Regions from separate parts of the Homo sapiens genome. Here regions 1, 2 and 4 are each linked to region 3. The links are contacts of gene promoters, found by promoter capture Hi-C in blood cells and fetal thymus (Javierre and others, 2016). All regions are on one chromosome and are shown on one strand. Each heading gives the region's core, a stretch centred on a gene start or on the middle of the fragment in contact. The rest is flanking DNA. Distances are from core to core; before and after follow the strand shown.

The links. The method cuts DNA at HindIII sites, captures the fragments that hold promoters and counts their contacts. A CHiCAGO score of 5 or more calls a contact.
Region 1: a contact is called between a fragment that was not itself captured here and the fragment with the promoter of FAM81A in region 3, in 1 of 17 cell types (total B cells). The highest score is 5.4, in total B cells.
Region 2: a contact is called between a fragment that was not itself captured here and the fragment with the promoter of FAM81A in region 3, in 1 of 17 cell types (naive B cells). The highest score is 5.1, in naive B cells.
Region 4: a fragment that was not itself captured here is called in contact with the fragment with the promoter of FAM81A in region 3 in 1 of 17 cell types (naive B cells); the score reaches 5.6 in naive B cells.

What each region holds. Positions count from the first base shown.
Region 1 is chr15:59,306,614-59,311,128 of GRCh38, forward strand. The region is part of intron 1 of MYO1E (myosin IE); the gene reads right to left. Among named protein-coding and RNA genes, the nearest start is that of MYO1E, 64 kb to the right of the region's middle. The HindIII fragment of the contact is 527 bases long and covers 2,691-3,217 here.
Region 2 is chr15:59,281,538-59,286,283 of GRCh38, forward strand. All of the region lies in intron 1 of MYO1E (myosin IE), which reads right to left. Among named protein-coding and RNA genes, the nearest start is that of LDHAL6B, 77 kb to the left of the region's middle. RefSeq lists a silencer at 413-707. The HindIII fragment of the contact is 5,735 bases long and covers 1-4,746 here.
Region 3 is chr15:59,436,360-59,440,774 of GRCh38, forward strand. It overlaps FAM81A (family with sequence similarity 81 member A), which reads left to right and starts at 1,827. Exons shown (of 9, transcript NM_152450.3): 1 at 1,827-1,923. RefSeq lists a silencer at 1,525-2,054. The HindIII fragment of the contact is 11,804 bases long and covers 1-2,426 here.
Region 4 is chr15:59,262,058-59,266,307 of GRCh38, forward strand. The region is part of intron 2 of MYO1E (myosin IE); the gene reads right to left. Among named protein-coding and RNA genes, the nearest start is that of LDHAL6B, 57 kb to the left of the region's middle. The HindIII fragment of the contact is 4,233 bases long and covers 235-4,250 here.

The DNA.
Region 1 (4,515 bases), core at 1,704-4,203, 130 kb before region 3:
GCCAAGGATTTAAATATATAAAATGCCTTTATTTGTGAAAGGTCTCAAAGGACTTTGCTCATTGTTGATTCATCATATCCCTTAGGTTTGCAAAACCATTTGCAATTTACAAAGTACTTTCACACTCATCATCTCAGTCCTTGGAGTCAGGCTGGATATTAGGGACTGACACGTTATCAACAAGGAGCCAAGATGGTGAGGCACGCCTGGTGCTCATGCTCATGAGTTGCTCATGATGTCATTCATCTCAAAAACCTGGTGTGTGAATGGCCCTTTGGGTTATTTTCCTGGTCTCCCTGTTATGAGCAGCGTTGCAGCAAGCGTTCTCATTCCTGTATCTTTGCAGCCTTGAGCTAATACTTCTGTGGGATGGACTTCAAAGTGGAACCGCTGGTCAGAGACTTGAGAACGGGATGCAAGCATATAGAAAGAGGCACTGGGAAAGTCTTCCTGGCAGGAAAATGAAGGAGAGCACCAAAGCATGAAGTACAGGAGGCAGGCCTAACGAGATCATCATTTCCAGCTTTTATTTAACTGAAAATGTAGGCTATTGCTTCCCAGCTTCAGAGTGAAACTAAGTCCAAGGGGACATCACCCAGGGAGCTGCTGGTATGGCCTGGGCATTGGAACTCTCCGGGCATCTCCAGTGGCACATGAGCATAGGCTACCTCACCAGATCCCTCAGCAGCTGCACCAACACCCTGGGCCCGGGGAGGATGAGGTTCCGCACAGTCGTTTTCTATTGGAAGGAGAACACGCAGGAGCTTTGGCTTACAGACAACAGCAGCTGGGCAGCTGGGGCTGGCCACCATGGGAAAGGGACAGAGCAAGAACCAGATTCTGTCAACTTTAATCTACGTTAATCCTGCTTATAATTCTGACATTTCCTTCCCACCTTCACTCTCAGGGTTTGCTTCATAGACTCTAAGACCCCTAATCTAGCTATTTGGGTGAGTATATTATTTGTAAATGATTCCAATGAGTTTAGTTTTTGTTTTTGGTTTTGGTTTTTTTAAGACGGAGTTTCGCTCTTGTTGCCCAGGCTGGAGTGCAACGGCGCGATCTTGGCTCACGGCAACCTCTGCCTCCAGGGTTCAAGCCATTCTCCTGTCTCAGCCTCCCGAGTAGCTGGGATTATAGGCATGCACCACTATGGCCGGCTAACTTTCTATCTTTAGTAGAGGTGGGGTTTCTCCATGTTGGTCAGGCTGGTCTTGAACTCCTGACCTCAGGCGATCCACCCGCCTCAGCCTCCCAAAGTGCTGGGATTACAGGCGTGAGCCACCACGCCTGGCTCCAGTGAGTTTAAAACAAATCCTTGGGGCTGGCGCGGTGGCTCACGCCTGTAATCCCAGCACTTGGGGAGGCCAAGGTGAGCGGATCACTTGAGGTCAGGAGTTCAAGGCCATCCTGGCCAACATGGTGAAACCCTGTCTCTATTAAAAAACAAAAAACAAAAATTAGCCGGATGTGGTGGCATGCATCTGTAGTCCCAGCTACTCGGGAGGCTGAGGCATGAGAATCACCTGAACCCAGGAGGCAGAGGTTGCAGTAAGCCAAGATCATGCCACTGCACTCCAGCTTGGGTGACAGAGTGAGACTCTGTCTCAAAAAAAAAAAAAAAAAAAAAAAAAAAAATAGGCTGGGCATGGTGGCTCACACCTGTAATCCCAGCACTTTGGGAGGCTGAGGGGGGCAGATCGCCTGAGGTCAGGAGTTCGAGACCAGCATGGCCAACATGGTGAAACCTCATCTCTACTAAAAATACAAACATTAGGCTGGGCACAATGGCTCACGCCTGTAATCCCAGCACTTTGGGAGGCCAAGGCGGGTGGATCACCTGAGGTCAGCAGTTCGAAACCAGCCTGGCCAACATAGCAAAACCCCGTCTCTACTAAAAATACAAAAATTAGCCAGGTGTGGGGGCCCACACCTGTAATCCCAGCTACATGGGAGGCTGAGGCAGGAGAATCACTTGAACCCGGGAGGTGGAGGTTGCAGTGAGCCGACATTGCACCACTGCTCTCCAGCCTGGGTGACAGAGCAAGACACCATCTCAAAAAAAAAAAAAAAAAATTAGCTGGGCATGGTGGCAGGTGCCCCTAATCCCAGCTACTCGGGAGGCTGAGGCAGAAGAATTGCTTGAACCCAGGAGACGGAGGTCACAGTGAGCGGTAATTGTGCCATTGCACTTCAACCTGGTGACAAGAGCAAAACTCCATCTCAAAAAAAAAAAATCCTCTAGAGGGATTTGTTTATTATTTATTTATTATATATTTATATTTTAGCCCCAGAGAGGCAGAATTGCAGAAAGAGCTCTGGGCCTCAGAGAGTCAGAAAACCTGTTCGATTAGCTGGGCTTGGTGACGCATGCCTGTGGTCCCAGCTACTTGGGAGGCTGAGGTGGGAGGATAGCTTGAGCCTGGGAGTTCGGAAGCTACAGTAAGCCATGATCACACCACTGCACTCCAGCCTGGGTGACAGAGTGAGACCTTGTCTCTAAAAATAAATTAAAAGAAAAAAACCTGGAAGAAAGAAGAGAAGGAAGATTGATGGGGAGGGAGAAAAGGGATGATTGTGTACTATGCACTAGCTCTGAGCCCGGCACCTTACATACATTAACTGATGTCTATCCTCAGAGTAATGCTACAAGAATGGTGTTGCTGCTCCATTTACTGAAAACAAAATGAAGCTTCCATAAGTTAAGTGTCTCCTCACAATACTACAACCCCCAAAAAAGCAACTAAAACAACAACAACAACAAACAGGACTTGAATTTTCTGACTTGTCAAAGGATTTTCCATTGTTCCAAGATTGCTGTGTAAACTAAACAGATGCAAAAACTGTTTACTAAATGCTACTGAAGAATAACAGGACATCATGATGGTGATGCCATGACCTGCAACACAGGTTCACTAAGAATTTTTGAGTCTCCCTGGAGGTCAGCCAGCTGTGTATTCTCAGGCTGGACGACGGCCCTAGAACCGCCTTGTGAGAAGTCCACTCAGTATGGCAGTAGCTGCCATTCCCTGAGACATCTACACTCCGTTTAGAGAAATCTTCCCAGAAAGGCCAAATGTGTGTCTTTCTGCCTTTAAAATATCTTTATTCACATGCATTTCTAAGGTTGCCCTTCGGTTTCTTCCATATCATTTTCACCTTTTTACCCTTCTTGGCAGCACATAAAGCATAACTTAAGTGGGTAGAGACAAAGAGAAGCTTGTCTGGATAGGCCTTCGTATATACTGATAGGGATTATATACCCCACCCACCACATTTGTAAATAGGCTAAGAATCACCCTTGATCCTTCCTCCCACTACATCAGATCTTAGTGGTTCTCCTTCAGACCCACCCCTCGACTACTCCCCTTTCCTCTCTGTTCTCACAGCCACTGCCTTACTTAAGGTCCCCTTATTTCTCACCTGCAATAGCGCCCTAACTCGTCTTTTTGGTCAGTTCTCCACAGCCTGCTGCTTAGGTCCTGTGCACCTTCCCTTCATAATTACTTAAGTGAGCTGCTAGTATTACTTACTCTAGGTCCAGGCAGCTTCCTAGCGCTCACGAAGAACACATGACACTGCCAAGTTGACCAGCTTGAGTGTGGCAGCAAACCCACTGCCCCCTTGAGTCCTAAAATGATAAGGTGCAGCGAAGTGTGTATCTGTTGTGGGTTGCACTGTGTTGCCTCCAAAAAAGACATGTTGAAGTCCTAGGCCACAGTATCTGTGAATGTGACCTAATTTGGAAATAGTCTTTGCGGATAGAATCAAGTTAAGACGAAGTCAGCAAAGCGGGCCTTAATCCAAGATAACTCACGTCCTTAAAGAAGAGAAGAGACACAGAAACAGACACAGGGAGAAGGTCATGTGATGATGGAGGCAGAGATTGGGGCGACACAGCCACAAGCCAAGGAATGCCAAGGCTGGCCAGCAACACTAGAAGCTGAGCAAAAGCATGGAACAGAATCTCCCCAACCTTCGGAAGGAGCGTGGTCCTGATGCCCATGCTGATTTTGAATCCTAGCCTTCGGAATTGTGAGAACACATTTCTGTTGTTTTAAGCCACCAGTTCATAGCAATTTGTTAAGGCAGCCCTAGGAAATGAATTATAGTATCTAAAGAAAGGTGGGAAGGGCTGACCACCAAGATGAAACAAGCCTTCGTGCCCAAATTCCTCTGCTTCACCAAGTTGCCTTTGGTAGTTTCGTATATATACTCTGTAAGAAGCTAGTGGTCTCAGAATTATGGTTCTAAAGAACAAATGTGATTTTGTTAAAAACCTCCACTTTCTGTAGGACAAATTCCAAGCAAGCCCTTAGTGTGCCATGTAAGCCCTCTCAAGTCTGGCCCCAACCTGCCTGTCCCACGTACTCATGTACTCATGATCATCTTCCCCCTCCACTTCCCTGCCTGCATGCTGACCTCCAGCCATCACTCTGCCCTGGAGTCCAGCAACTGATTCTCATGCACAGTAGACAACAGGCATGGTCAAGGCAACCATCCAGGGTGGCCCTG
Region 2 (4,746 bases), core at 1,517-4,016, 150 kb before region 3:
AGGGTTAGGATTACAGGCGTGAGCCACCGCGCCCGGCCCCCATGACTTTTCTGACATACACCACACCATATTGCAATCTTTCCTAAACCTCAGTCATTTTCAACTATTTTAACAAGTTTCCTATAACCACATTCCACAGCACTTGCTTCAAATTTTTCTATAAATGGTCCTTAATAATTTTGATTAAACCTACACAACAATCTTCATAAAATCCACCAGTTTGGTGTGCTAGTTTTGTTTCTTCAACATGTAAAAATAGCTACGAAGACAAATGTTGTAAGCCGGTCGCGGTGGCTCATGCCTGTAATCCCAGGGCTTTGGGAAGCAAAGGTGAAAGGATTGCTTGAGCCCAGGAGTTCAAGGCTGCAGTAAGCTATGATTGCACCACTGCACTCCAGCCTGGTGACAAAGCAAGACCCTGTTCAAAAAAAAAAAAGGAAAAGAAAAAGAGAAATATTGTAAAATACACCAGTGTGGGGTTGTACATACCGATGTTAAGGTCTACCCTGGTGCCATGTTCCACACCTGGGGACACACTGGCATTCCCTATTGGGCCTTTTCTTGTCAATTTCAAGTCCAGCCATAGGGAATTTAAATAACTTCTGTTCGATTTCCCAAATGCATTTTACTCTGCTGTGGAAAATCTCACATGGTAAGACCAGATTTCCCTTTTAGTTTGCAGGCGAGAGTCTAGGTTGTGTTCTCACAAGTAGAACCTACCCTATGTTTGTGTTCTGAATTCCCTGCACTTTCCATCAGGGCTCCCAAGCCCCCTGCTCTGTCTAGACCTCCCACCTCAGAAAACCCTCCCAGCCACAGGTGGGACATGTCAGTAGTCCCCAGGGTCAGGGCTTGTCTTGAGGCTGAGCAGGAAATTCTCTTGGGTAACTGCTTTTTATTCTTTCTCTCTCAGGAAGTGCTTCCCGTAAGCATTACCAAAACGGTTCTGTCCTCTTTCCCTCACAAACTCCAGGAACCCTAGAATGGTGGCTCCTATCTCTGATCCTCACCAAAAGTCCCTTTGAAGACCAGGTGTGGTGGCTCATGCCTATAATCCCAGCACTTTGGGAGGCCAAGGAGGGAGGACTGCTTGAGCCCGGGAGTTAGAGGCCAGCCTGGACAACATAGCGAGACCCCATCTCTACACAAAATCAAAACATTAGCTGGACGTGGTGGCACATGCCTGTGGTCCAGGCTACTCTCGAGAGCCGGAGGCAGGAGGATCGCTTAAGCTCAGGAGGTCAAGGCTGCAGTGAGCCGTGACTGCGTTACTGCACTACAGCCTGCGTAACAGAGCAAGACAAAGAAAGAGAAGGGAAGGAAAGGGAAGGGGGAGTGGGAGAGGGAGGGGAGGGGGGAGGGGGGGAGGGGGGAGGGGGAGGGGGAGGGGGAGGGGGAGGGGGAGGGGGAGGGGGGAGAGGGGAGGGGAAAGGGGAAAGGGGAAAGGGGAAAGGGGAAAGGGAAAGGCCTGGGCAGCCCAGGCTCTCTGAGATGCTCAGGGCATCCATCCTCCAGGGCACAAAAAGGGCTCTGGTTGCCCTCATCCCAGGGAGACGGGCGGTCAGAGGACAGTGGCTGCCTTCACAAGCCTGGTCTGGAACCCCTCAAGGTAGCTGCGCATGCATTTGAAGTGCAAATCTTAGCGAGGCTTCCCTGACCTGTCCTTGTCCATCTCTAACCCCTGCTTTCTCCGTTTTGAGGTTCCCACCACACCATTTTCTGTGCATACCATGCTGTGCTTTGTTTCTGTTTTTCCACAGTGTGTGTGTGAGGTGGGATCTTCAGTACCTACATTCCCACTGTCCCCCAGCTTAGGGTATTCTTCTATGAACTCCTCCCTACCTCAACCCAACTCTATGCCTACTAAACTCTCACCCAGCACAGGTCAGGCATCATCTTGCTAAGAAGCCTGCTCTAACAGCATTACCTGAGTGCCTGGCTCCCTGATTAAACTGACCCCTAGGACCAAGTCTTATTCACCATTCTGCCCCAAGACCTAGTAGAGTGCCATGATGCATGGCATGGGCAGCCCCCAAGTATTTGTTGAATGAATGAAATACATTATTATTATTCTCACGTAACAGCTAATTCTTATTACATACCAAGCACTGCTCTAAGCATTTTACATATAACTTATCTAATCCTTACAACTTCACGAGGCAGGAAACTGAGTGAAGCACAGAGAAGTTAAGTAACTTGCTCAGCTCCCACAGCTGGGCTTCAAACCCAGGCAGTCTGCTTCAGATCTTTGCCCTTAAACATTGTACCTACTGCCTCTCATAATAAAGTAACAGCAGTTGGAAACAGCAATAATTCTAAAGTTCATAGTAACTGCTTTATTGCATGTTTACTATGTGTCACGTATCAACTTCTTTCATCTGCCCAATGACACCACCAAGTACTTGTATTATCCTTTTTTTTACAGAAGAAAAAGAAGTACCACGTGGTAAACAGAATACCTGGTACAAAGCCCTGCAAGCTAGGAGCTCACGGAGCAGCCTGGCTCTGCACAGCCTTGCATAATGCAGAGGAAGTTCCGTGCCCTGGAGTCAGCCTTGGGATGATGTCTGCCCCCTGCCATGTCCCCACCAGGGTGGTGCCTGGGGCATGGGAGTGCCCAATCTTTACTAGCTGGGTGAATAAATTCCAGGCTACACTGACTCACCTCACAACATGTTTGCTGTAGGTACACGGCAGCACTGTGGCAGCAGCTATCGTGGGGCAAATAGGAGTCCTGGGCCCAGAGTCTGCTCCAAGGAAGAAATAAGTTTCCAAGGCGTTCCTATTTGCCCCCAACTCAGGAGATCAAAGGGAAGAGATATTGCCCCTAAACACAGTTCTCCTTCTCTTAACCATGTAAGTAGTCCAGTTAAGAGTAACAGATATTTGAGGTTGGATGATTACTATTTTATTTTTATTTTTATTTTTTTGAGACAGGGTCTCACTTTGTCACCCAGGCTGGAGTGCTGTGGCGCAAACATAGCTCACTGAGGCCTCAACCTCCAGGGCTCAATTAATCCTCCCTCCTCAGCTTCCCTAGTAGCCAGGGCTACAGGTGTGCACCACCATACCTGGCTGTGTTTCTCTACCAAAAAAAAAAAAAATTTTTTTTTTTTTTGTAGAGACAGGGTCCCACTGTGTTGCCCAGGCTAGTCTCAAACTCTTGGGCTTGAGCAATCCTCCTGCCTCAGCCTCCCAAAGTGCTGGGATTATAGGTGTAAGCCACCGTGCCCAGCCTGGATGATTAACTTTTTAAACAGAATAACAGGCAATTAATCTTCACCACATCATTAGTGAGGTAAGGACATTTCAAGCTACAGAATAATATGAATCAAATGCTTGAGATTCCTTAATATGACAAATGCTCATTTCACTTCTGCTCTGATTATATTTTAATCAAACAAGTGACAAGAGAGTCACACTGATGTTAGTCCCTGTCTTTTCAGCTGTGGCTCTGCTAGCATGTCACATACATCAAGCACTTAACAGTCCCTTAAGAGAGCTCCCACATCACCACTCTTGTTTTTAAGTGCAAAGCTCTTAGACATTCGGTAATACGATTCAGGAATGTAACTTTTCTTCCTAATCTAGCAAACTGATTAAAATCAACAGACTTGGGTACAAGCTCTACCTCTCACATGCCTCTGTGCCTTGGGCAAGGCCAGTTTCACAGAATTTTATTATTTACAGTTTTAAAGCAATCTTGCAAGGTGTGGCGGTTCATGTCCTTCATCTCAGTGGAGGCTGAGACAGAAAGATCACGTAAGGCCAGGAGTTTGAGAACAGCCTGGGCAACACGCAAGACACTGTCTCTTTTTTTTTTTTTTTTTTTTTTTTTGAGACGGAGTCTGGCTCTGTCGCCCAGGCTGGAGTGCAGTGGCACAATCTTGGCTCACTATAACCTCTGCCCCCCGGCTTCACGCCATTCTCCTGCCTCAGCCCCCCGAGTGGCTGGGCTTACAGAAGGTGCCCACCGCCACGCCCAGCTAATTCTTTTTTGTGTGTGTTTTTAGTAGAGAACTCCTGATCTTGAACTCCTGACGTCAAGTGATCCACCCACCTTGGCCTCCTCAAGTGCTGGGATTACAGGCGTGAGCCACCACGCCCGACTAGACACTGTCTTTAAAAAAAATAATAAAATCAATTAATTAATTAGCTGAAATGAATTTTAAAAATAAAAGTGAAAAAAATTTTTAAGAAAAAGAAAAGAAAAAATTAAGTCAGCCTATTAAATGCATACCAAATTAGTGTGTGCATGTCCATTAAGATTTTTATTAATCATACAGGTCGGCACAAAAGTAATTGCGGTTTTTGCCATTAATGGCACCGGCCTAATAGATTCATAAGTCAAAAATCCTACCAGACTCTGTGTCCTAATTTGTGGTTTGAAAATGATAGTCTCTGAAGTAGTAGCTGCTCAATACCTTTTTCTAATTCAATTACACAGCCAAGGTAATGAGGCAGGAAGACTAGCTAGAAACACCAGCAGCTGTGCATATAAATAAAGACAGGGAGGTAACTGAACAATTTCTTGTGACATAATATGAACTATCACCCTGTACCATGGAACAAAGAAACTCTAATTTAAATGCTATTCTGAGAAAAAGAACAGTATGCAAAGAGTTATCAGCAGGCTGTGGCAGAGTTGATATCAACCTGCCAAAAAGTCAGGACTTCCTATCCTTGGAAGAATCTCTCCTATACTGCTTGCAAAATACGCATTATTTATAAGTCATGCAAAATGCT
Region 3 (4,415 bases), core at 577-3,076:
AAGGGGTGCCTTGAGGCTCTGGCACCTCAAGTAGTAGAGGGAGTAGGGTCAGTATTGGGGTGGGCGGGGAAAGGGTAGAGTAATAAGAAGAGGAAGAAACAAGACAGAGGGGACGTTATGTGTCCATCTGAGATGCTCTCCATATGCACTGAAAGGCACCCCGATGGAGACAGGCAAGAAATATTTTGAACCTTTTTCTAGACTCTTGGTGATGGACTCTAGGTTTGAATGGGTACTTTCTGCTAACACATGCACACCTTTCCAGATGTTGTGGCCAGTTACAGCCAGAAGGTCACTGGGAAGCAGAGTGACAGTGTCATCACCATGACATAGGATCCAATTCAATATGTATTTACCTAGTACATACCATGCACCAGGCAGTGGGAATCTAACCGAGAAAGGAAAGAATAATCATTGAGCTTTTGCAGCACTAAAGAGATGCTGTTATACCAGATCTACACATCACAAGACTCAAGGCCATTACTCTCCTGGTCACAACGGCAGTGTTAACATGTGTCTGTGATTATTTGATGAATGCTCGTCAGGCTCTAAGCTCTGTGGGATCAGAAAGTGATGTGTCTCTTTTTCATCTTCACCATTGTGTCTCAGGGCTAAGCATAGTTTCTAGCACTTGGCAGCCATCCAATAGATACTGTTGGCTGAATGAATGTTACAGATGCGTTAGCGCTTTGTGGAAGTTATTAGCCCGTTTTACTGGTGAGGAAACAGTCGCAGAATACCCACAAATATTTCAAAGATCACACACAAATAACAGTCCTTAATACTAATAGCCCCTAAATAATAATGCTGCCGGAGAGAGAATTCCAAAACCGCTCAGCCGAATCCACAGTTCGGGCTCTTCTACCATGTCGGGCTCCTTCCCCTGGGTTGGAAGGGCTCAGGCTGGGGCGGGGTGGGGGAGACAGACAGGAGCCCCTGTGCTGGGTAAGTACCAGTATCTGCGAAGGAGGCACGAACCAGATGAGGCAAAGGTCGTGTCCCCCGCAACTCCGCTGAAATCCTGCCCACCGAGAGGAAGCACAATTATGAGTGAATGGGCTTGTGCGTCCTGATGAGAATCCAAAATCGAGAGGAAGGTGGAAAGAGCCAGGACGCGCTGGGAGGGGATGAAGCTGACGGGAGAAGAAAGGGCTGGGAAGAGGAGGGGTGTTCGGGGTTCTTCTTCTCGTCGTGTCTGCTGCGATGAGACACGATCCTGGGTCCCAACTGCAGGTGTCAAGGCGATTCAGTAAATGACACATGGCAGCCCCGGAGGGTTCGTTCACCTGCACAGGTGGGGCGTCACCGTGGCCTAATCAAATAACTTCTCCCCAATTTGAGGTGGGGCGGGGGAGAGAACTATTTTTGTGGGAAAGCGGTTTAGTAAATAAGGTATATTGGGGCTCTAGAGAGAATTGCAGTGCCACCACCATGGCTATGATCTCCGTCAGGCACCATTTCAACACCTCTCCAAATCAACCATCCCTACAACAGGATTTATTTTCCAATGAGCGAAATCCCCGCCCGCCAACTCCAAGGCGCTTGGATGCGAGCTCTGTGGGAAACAGCAGCGACGAGCAGAGGCTATTTTGGGTGTGGGAACGAGGAGGGAGGAGGGGCGGCGCCGCCAGGCTGGGCGCGGGTGCGCGGGGAAAGCCTCCAGCTCGGGCTGCCACGGCAACCGCGTCCAGGCAACGCGCCCGGAAGCGGCTCCGGCGGCGCGCGGCGGCTCGCGCCCCCCGGGAGCCGCGAACCCGGCCGGGCCGCGCGCCGGGCCAGGCGGCAGGCGCGCGCTGATTGGACGGCGCTCCCCGCGGCGCGGGCCCGCAGCCGGGCGCCCTGCTCAGCCAGCGCCAGCGGCCGCCGCACCCAGCCGCGCCGGCGAGGACATGGGCAGCCGCGGCGCGCCCACCCCCCGCGCCGGTGAGTGCCGCGCTCTGGGAACCCCGGCCGGGCGGCCTCTGGGGCTGGGCGGCGGGAGCTCTCTGGGACGGCCGGTGACCTTGGGGCAGCCTCTCAGGAGATAGGCGTGGGGTAGAGAGAGCTGCGCGTGGCCCATGTGACATGCCGCGGGCGAGAGGGTTAACTGCATGTGACGCGAAGGGCTGAAGTTGGGCACAGAGCGCAACTGGCGTTGCATTTTCGCGGGGGCTGCATGCTAGCGAACCAACCGACGCCCGGAGGGACTGTTTGGGGGAGCTGGGGTGGTGCACGGATTGCCAGGGGTAAAGGCGAGTCAGCCGACCCACTACTCAGAGTGAGTGACCTTGGGTAGGTTAACCATCTGCTCTTCCGCCCCTTCGCTTTTTCTCATCTTTCAAACGAGAGGCTAGGGGGTCTTTGCAGTTCCAGAATGCTGTTGTGCCATCCTACTGCGAGCTGAGAAAGAGCCCTAAAGTACGGTTCTGCAGGTACCGGAGATGCAAAGCTTAACCATGTTTATTCTAGGAGGGGTTTCCATTAATTGGCTCCTAAAGTGGTAAGAAATGTTATCGTTGTCTGGAAGATTATGGAGCAAGCAGTCGGTGGTCCGGAGAATGGCTTCTTAAGATGCACAGGTTAAAACCTCTTTGGTGCCCTAAAGACATGAACAAAATCAGGATTAATGCTCCTAAGTTCTTCTTTCCTGTAGTTAATCTAATAGGAAACTTTGTATTTGAACAGGTAAAATCAAAACCCAATCGTGGCAGGCAGCAGCAAATTAAGTGAGTCATTTCTTCAATGTGCACGAGGTTTATGTGTGTGTGTGCGCGCGTGTGTGTGTGTGCGTGTGTGCGCGTGCGCTCTCGTCCTCAGCTCAAAGTCTGCGTACGGCAGTGTTGGAAATTATTTCATAGGAGTAACCAGAAATAATGCTAGAATGATTCGAATCCACAAAAGTGCAGCTCTCTCAGAAGCAAGGGCAAACATTTGCAACTTGCTTTTAAAATAAGAGGTTTGTAGAGTAAATATATTCTTTATTGAGAACCATCCCCAGATTTGCACATTGTATCTGCCTTCTGGGCCCTGTCACTGAATGCGCGTGTGTGTATGTGTGTGTGTGTGTGTTGGGGGGGGCGGGTTCCTTGGCACTTATAATATTTTTAGCGTTGACTGGTACTAAAAAGGACACTTAGGCCCCCTTCCATATCCACTGTCTATAAACTTCCCTCTTCCACGGAGGGGAATGGAGGACGTACCCTCTCACAGGTACCCCTGGTTGCCCCTTCTGACTTTCTACTTAAAGCTACCCTTGATTTTCATTCGAATCTGATTTCATCTGTATAAGAACGTGGGTTGGGAAGACACAGTTTCCAATGCTAATGAATAAGCTTCTGCAAGCTTGTTTACCTGAGGGCTTAATAACCTTTAATGTGTTACATGTTAGAAATCTGATAGCATACGGATAGAAAAATACTTAGTGTCCAGGAATTCAACCATGAAGCCCTACCAACCATTTAATGAGCCACACTACATGGTGCTTGGAAACGTTATTAGCGCATTATTCAGCCTCCTCTCTCTGCAGGCCACTAGGCTGTGTCACTCCGACCTGGCTTTAAATGTCTTGTTTCTTGTATCCTGCAGCCACACTCTTGCATTTTCATTTTTTATGTAGCTGAACCCACCTTCTCTCCCGAGCACCAGAGCCTGAGTGAACAACTTGCCGCAGAAGAGCCTTCTCTAGTGTCCTCCACCGTCTCACCAGAGTAGGGATGCTCTTCCGCTTCTCCTTAGTGCTGCCTCCAAACCAATGCACCATCACCAACCAAGTCTCCTCTCGGAAGGTAGTGCTATCTGCTTGTGCCCCTACCCTCCTTCTTATCTTCTGGTCCAGTGCTTCCCAAACCTGGGGGCTCCTCAGAATCACCTGGGACATTTTGAAAAACTTGGTCTTTAGACTCTCTCAGATATACCAAATTAGAATCATTGGGGGCTGGGGCAGGGTGGGGGAGTAAGACCTAAAAATCCCTACTTTAAAAACAAACCCCAAAAGGAGGAGCAGCAGGAGACGATGAAGAGAAGGAACAGAACTCTCTGGGCAATTCTGATGTACACCCAGGTACAGTGGGGATCTCTTCACTTGATGCCCCAAAAAAGGGATAAACAAACAAAAAACGTGAGCAGCCAGCTTCATTCTCTTCTCTGCTTTGTCTCTTGCCAGTGACTTTGGGTTTTGTGTTGAAGCTCTCTTAATTCTTTGACCTTGAAGTTCCTCAACATCTATCCCAGTAGCCTCAGTTTCCACTTTGCTTCAACTAACATCTTGGACTTGTTCAGTCTTGAACAAGACTAAACCTTTGAGATCTTGAACTCGGACTTCAGCCTACTTAGCTGATACTACCCACATACTGCTCTGGATTTTAACCATCGCTGAGGACCCTGGTCCCTTAAGCACTTGCTGTTCCAATCCTTCAGCCCCTCTGTGACTCTGTTTC
Region 4 (4,250 bases), core at 1,101-3,600, 170 kb before region 3:
CAGCTGTGGTGGCACACGCCTGTAGTCCCTGCTACTGTACTCAGGAGGCTGAGGCAGGAGAATCGTCTGAACCCATGAGGCGGAGGTTGCAGTGAGCCAAGATCATGTCACTGCACTCCAGCCTGGGCAACATAGTGAGACTCTTGTCTCCAAAAAAAAAATAAAAAAAAATATTCATCTACTTATTTAACAAATACAGGGATACAAGATGAACTAACAGCTCTGTTCTCCAGAAGCTTAGAGGAATTAAAAGGCATCAATGAGGTAATTTTCTGGCCAGGTGCAGTGGCTCATGCCTGTCTGTACTCCCAGCATGTTAGAAGGCCAAGGGGGTGGATCGCTTTAGGCCAGGAGTTTGAGGCCGGCCTGGGCAACATAGCAAAACTCCATCTCTAAAAAAACAAAAACAAAAACAAAAACATTAGCCAGGCATGGGGGCGTGTGCCTGCAGTCCCAGCTACTGGGCAGGCTGAGGCGGGAGGATTGCTTGAGGCCAGGAGTCGGAGGTTGCAGTGAGCCCAGATCAGAGGTTACAGCAAGCCAAGATCACGTCACCGCATTCCAGCCTGGGTGACAGAAAGAGACCTTGTCTCAAAATAACAGTAATAATCATAAATAAGGTAGTTTTCAGAGAAGAAAATTATAAACCCACCTACATCAGGTTTAGGGAAAGAAGGTATTATTTCTGCTTGGGGAATACAAGATGGCCTCTCAGAGAGGCTATGCTTATGCTGGGCCTTAAAAATTTTACACATTTTAATATATGAAAATAAATGAAGACTTATGATCACATGAAAAATATTTCCAATTATTCATTCAACAATCAACTAATTTGAATTGGGTGCTTACTTAACATGCCAGGCACTGTTTTAGATGCTCGGGATATGACAGTGAACAAAATAAATAGAATATATATAACTTCTTGACTTCATGGAGAGAATAAATATAACTTCTTGACTTCATGGAGAAAAAAAATCTAAACAACACACAGAGACATTCAAAACTGTTTCTTTCAATGATCAATTTCAAGGTGTTTAGAAATTTTACAAATAAATTGTTAAACAGAAAGTTATTTACAAATATATAGTTTTAGATAAAGACTTAAAACTATGAGATTTCCTCCCACAGGAGAACATTTTTATATTTACATATTAAGACCTGTGTACCATGAAAACCAGCCCAGGTGTTCAGTCAGATTGGCTGGTGCTGATGGAGATAAAATAGGACCTACCTGATAGTCTCATTTTACTTAAATAAAATAATTATAGAACACTCAGCACTGTGAGCACAGCACATAGTAATGGCTTTTCCTTAATTAATATCCTCTAAGGCACATGTTTTATCATGTAATATCTCAAATCATGATGCATGTTTCAAGTGTGGCTTAACATGCCAGGTGCTGTTTTAGAGGCAATGGTTTGTTAGTTTCTATTAGACACAGTGTTATTACTACTTAATACAAATCAATGTGAGATGGATCATATAATCATATAATTTTTTTAAAGATAATATTTTAGATTATTGTGCATATACAAAGGTAAGCATGCAGAATGACATGATTATGCTTTTACTTCTCTTTGTCACTGACCAGAAAGATCTTCATACTTGAAGGGGTGGAACATGAATTGCTATTAGGGAAGATGAAGTGGTTTTAAGACCACTTCAGCAGTGCCCAGTTCTGGTCTAAGGGCAGGCCATAGTGCTAAGAGAAAATGCTGATGAGACAGTGATTGAGCCATAACTGAAAATTACTGAAGAGTTATGGAAGAAGGGCCATGGAAAATGTATTCCCAATTGCCAAAGTCAGATGAGGCCAATGATAGATTAGTGAAAATTTAGGACACATACATGTACTGTTAAAATTATCAAGCAGGTAAGACGTCCATGATGCCGTAGCCAAGACTCAATAAGGCGTCATAAAATTAATTAAACACATATACATTTACATCTTAGCACCAAATAACAACCTATTTGACTTCAGGTTGACTGTCCCTTATCCAAAATGCTTTTTGCAGATTGTGCTTTTTTTCATATTTTGGAACGTTTGCATTACACTCACCACCAGTTCAGCATCCCTAACCCAAAAATCCAAAATCGAAATGCTCTGAAGAGCATCGTGTCGATTATCAAAACATTTCAAACTTTGCAGCATTTCAAATTTGGAATTTTCAGATTAAGGATACTCAGCCTGTACAGGGAAACTGAGGCACGGAGAAATTTTTAAAAGTTGCTTAAGGTCACACACTATAAGTGGCAGAGCTAGGATTCAAACTCAGGCAGTCTGGATCCCACGCCCATACTCTTAATCAAAAGCTAGAATGTCTAAGATAAGCAGGTACTGTTGCGTTAATATTATTACTGGTAGCCAGATTTAGCAAATAAAAACACAGAAAACTAGTTAAATTGGAAAGTCATTCAAACAAGAATTTTTTTAAGTATGTTCCAAATAAGTATGTTCCCCAGTAATATTTGGTACATACTTATAGTAAAAAGTAACTTGTTGTTTATCTGAAATTCAAACTTAACCAGCAGTCCTGAATTTTATCTGGCAACCCTAAATTGGCAGCCTCTTCTAACTTAGATTCTCTGATGCTTTGCATACTCGAAAACCTAATTCCCTTAGGTGGATTTTTAAAGTATCTTTTCTAATTGGTAAGGACCTAATCAAAATTGAATGAACGAGCAGGTTGTGGTGGCTCAAGCCTGTAGTCCTAGCACTTCGGGAGAATAAGGTGGGTGGACCCCTTGAGCTCAGGAGTTCGAAACCAGCCTGGGCAATCTAGTGAGACCTCATCTCTACAAAAAATTTTTTTAAAATTAGCCAAGCATGTTGGTTGGTACGTGCCTGTAGTTCCTGCTGAGGTGGGAGGATTGCTTAAGCCAAGCAGGTCGAGGTTGCAGTGAGCCATGATCATGCCACTGCACTCCAGCCTGGGCAACAGAGCCAGACCCTGGCTCCCAAAAAAGAAAACAAACAAACAATTAATGAATGAAGTAATAATGATTCTTATGGTAAACCCAATTTTAAAGAAACACAGCACTGCTAGAACCATCTTCACTTCAGAAGAGGAAGATGTTTATTTCATGTCTACATCTATCCCCAGGGAAAAACAAACAGGCAAATAAGCTCCTTCCATGGAGGAGGGTACTTGTTCCCTTAGTTGTAAAGGGAATGTGGTTACTGCCGCCTTGTCCTAGACAAATTGATCACTGCACACAAAGAATAAAGGGCTGCCCTCAGGACAACAGACAAAGGTACCACCTCCCCACCAATCCCTTGGTTACTCAATAAATATGAATTCAGTTGCATATGAGCTCCTAAAGTGACCAACATTTTAAAAACTGTTAATTTGCTATATAAAGAGATATCTCATTAAGTCTTGATTTTTCACCAAGTAGATTACATAAATTCTGATTAGGGCCTGGTTAAGGAGATATTCAGGAAAAAAAACAAAAACAAAAATTTATTTTGGACTATTCTAGGCCAATCGTGAATCAATGACTCAGGTCAGAATGAAATGAAGAGGGAAATTTGTACCTGCTCCCTAAATTTATCAGTAGGGTTCTTGGGGATAATACTATTTGGGAAGACACCTAAAAAATAAAGTTTGGTTTAAAATGGCTGTTTCTGGTTGGGTGCTATAATCACAACACTGTGGGAGGACAAGTGGGATGATTGCTTGAGTCCAGGAGTTCGAGACCAGCCTGGGCAATATACTGAGACCCCATCTCCTTAAAAAAAAAAAAAAAAAAAAAAAAAATTGCCAGGCATGGTGGTCTTCACATGTAGTCCCAGCTACTTGGGAGGCTGAGGTGGGAGGATCACTTAGGCCTGGGAAGGCAAGGCTGCAGCGAACTGTGATCACACCATTGCTCTCCAGCTTAGGTGACAGAGCAAATAAAATAAAATAAAAAATTTAAAAAAAAGTCTCAAAAAATAAAATGGCTGTTTCTACAGAAAAACTAAGGAGAATTTAATTGATTTAAAGAAAATAAACATATCGTAGTTATTTCCGGTGAGAGTTTGGAATAATTGTTTATCTAAACAATTCTCACCTTTTCCACCTTGCTATGTCTGCAGAGACCTTAGCTATTTTCCGGACACCTGTGCTCTCCTGCTGCTTTGGGAACTCCAGGTAATTCCAACAATGCTCACTCCCACTCCTGTTGCATAATTCAGGTGTGCCTCTGGGAAAAGCCGTTCGGATCATTGTCTTTACCCACATAATCCTTGGTGGTGAAGGTGTGGC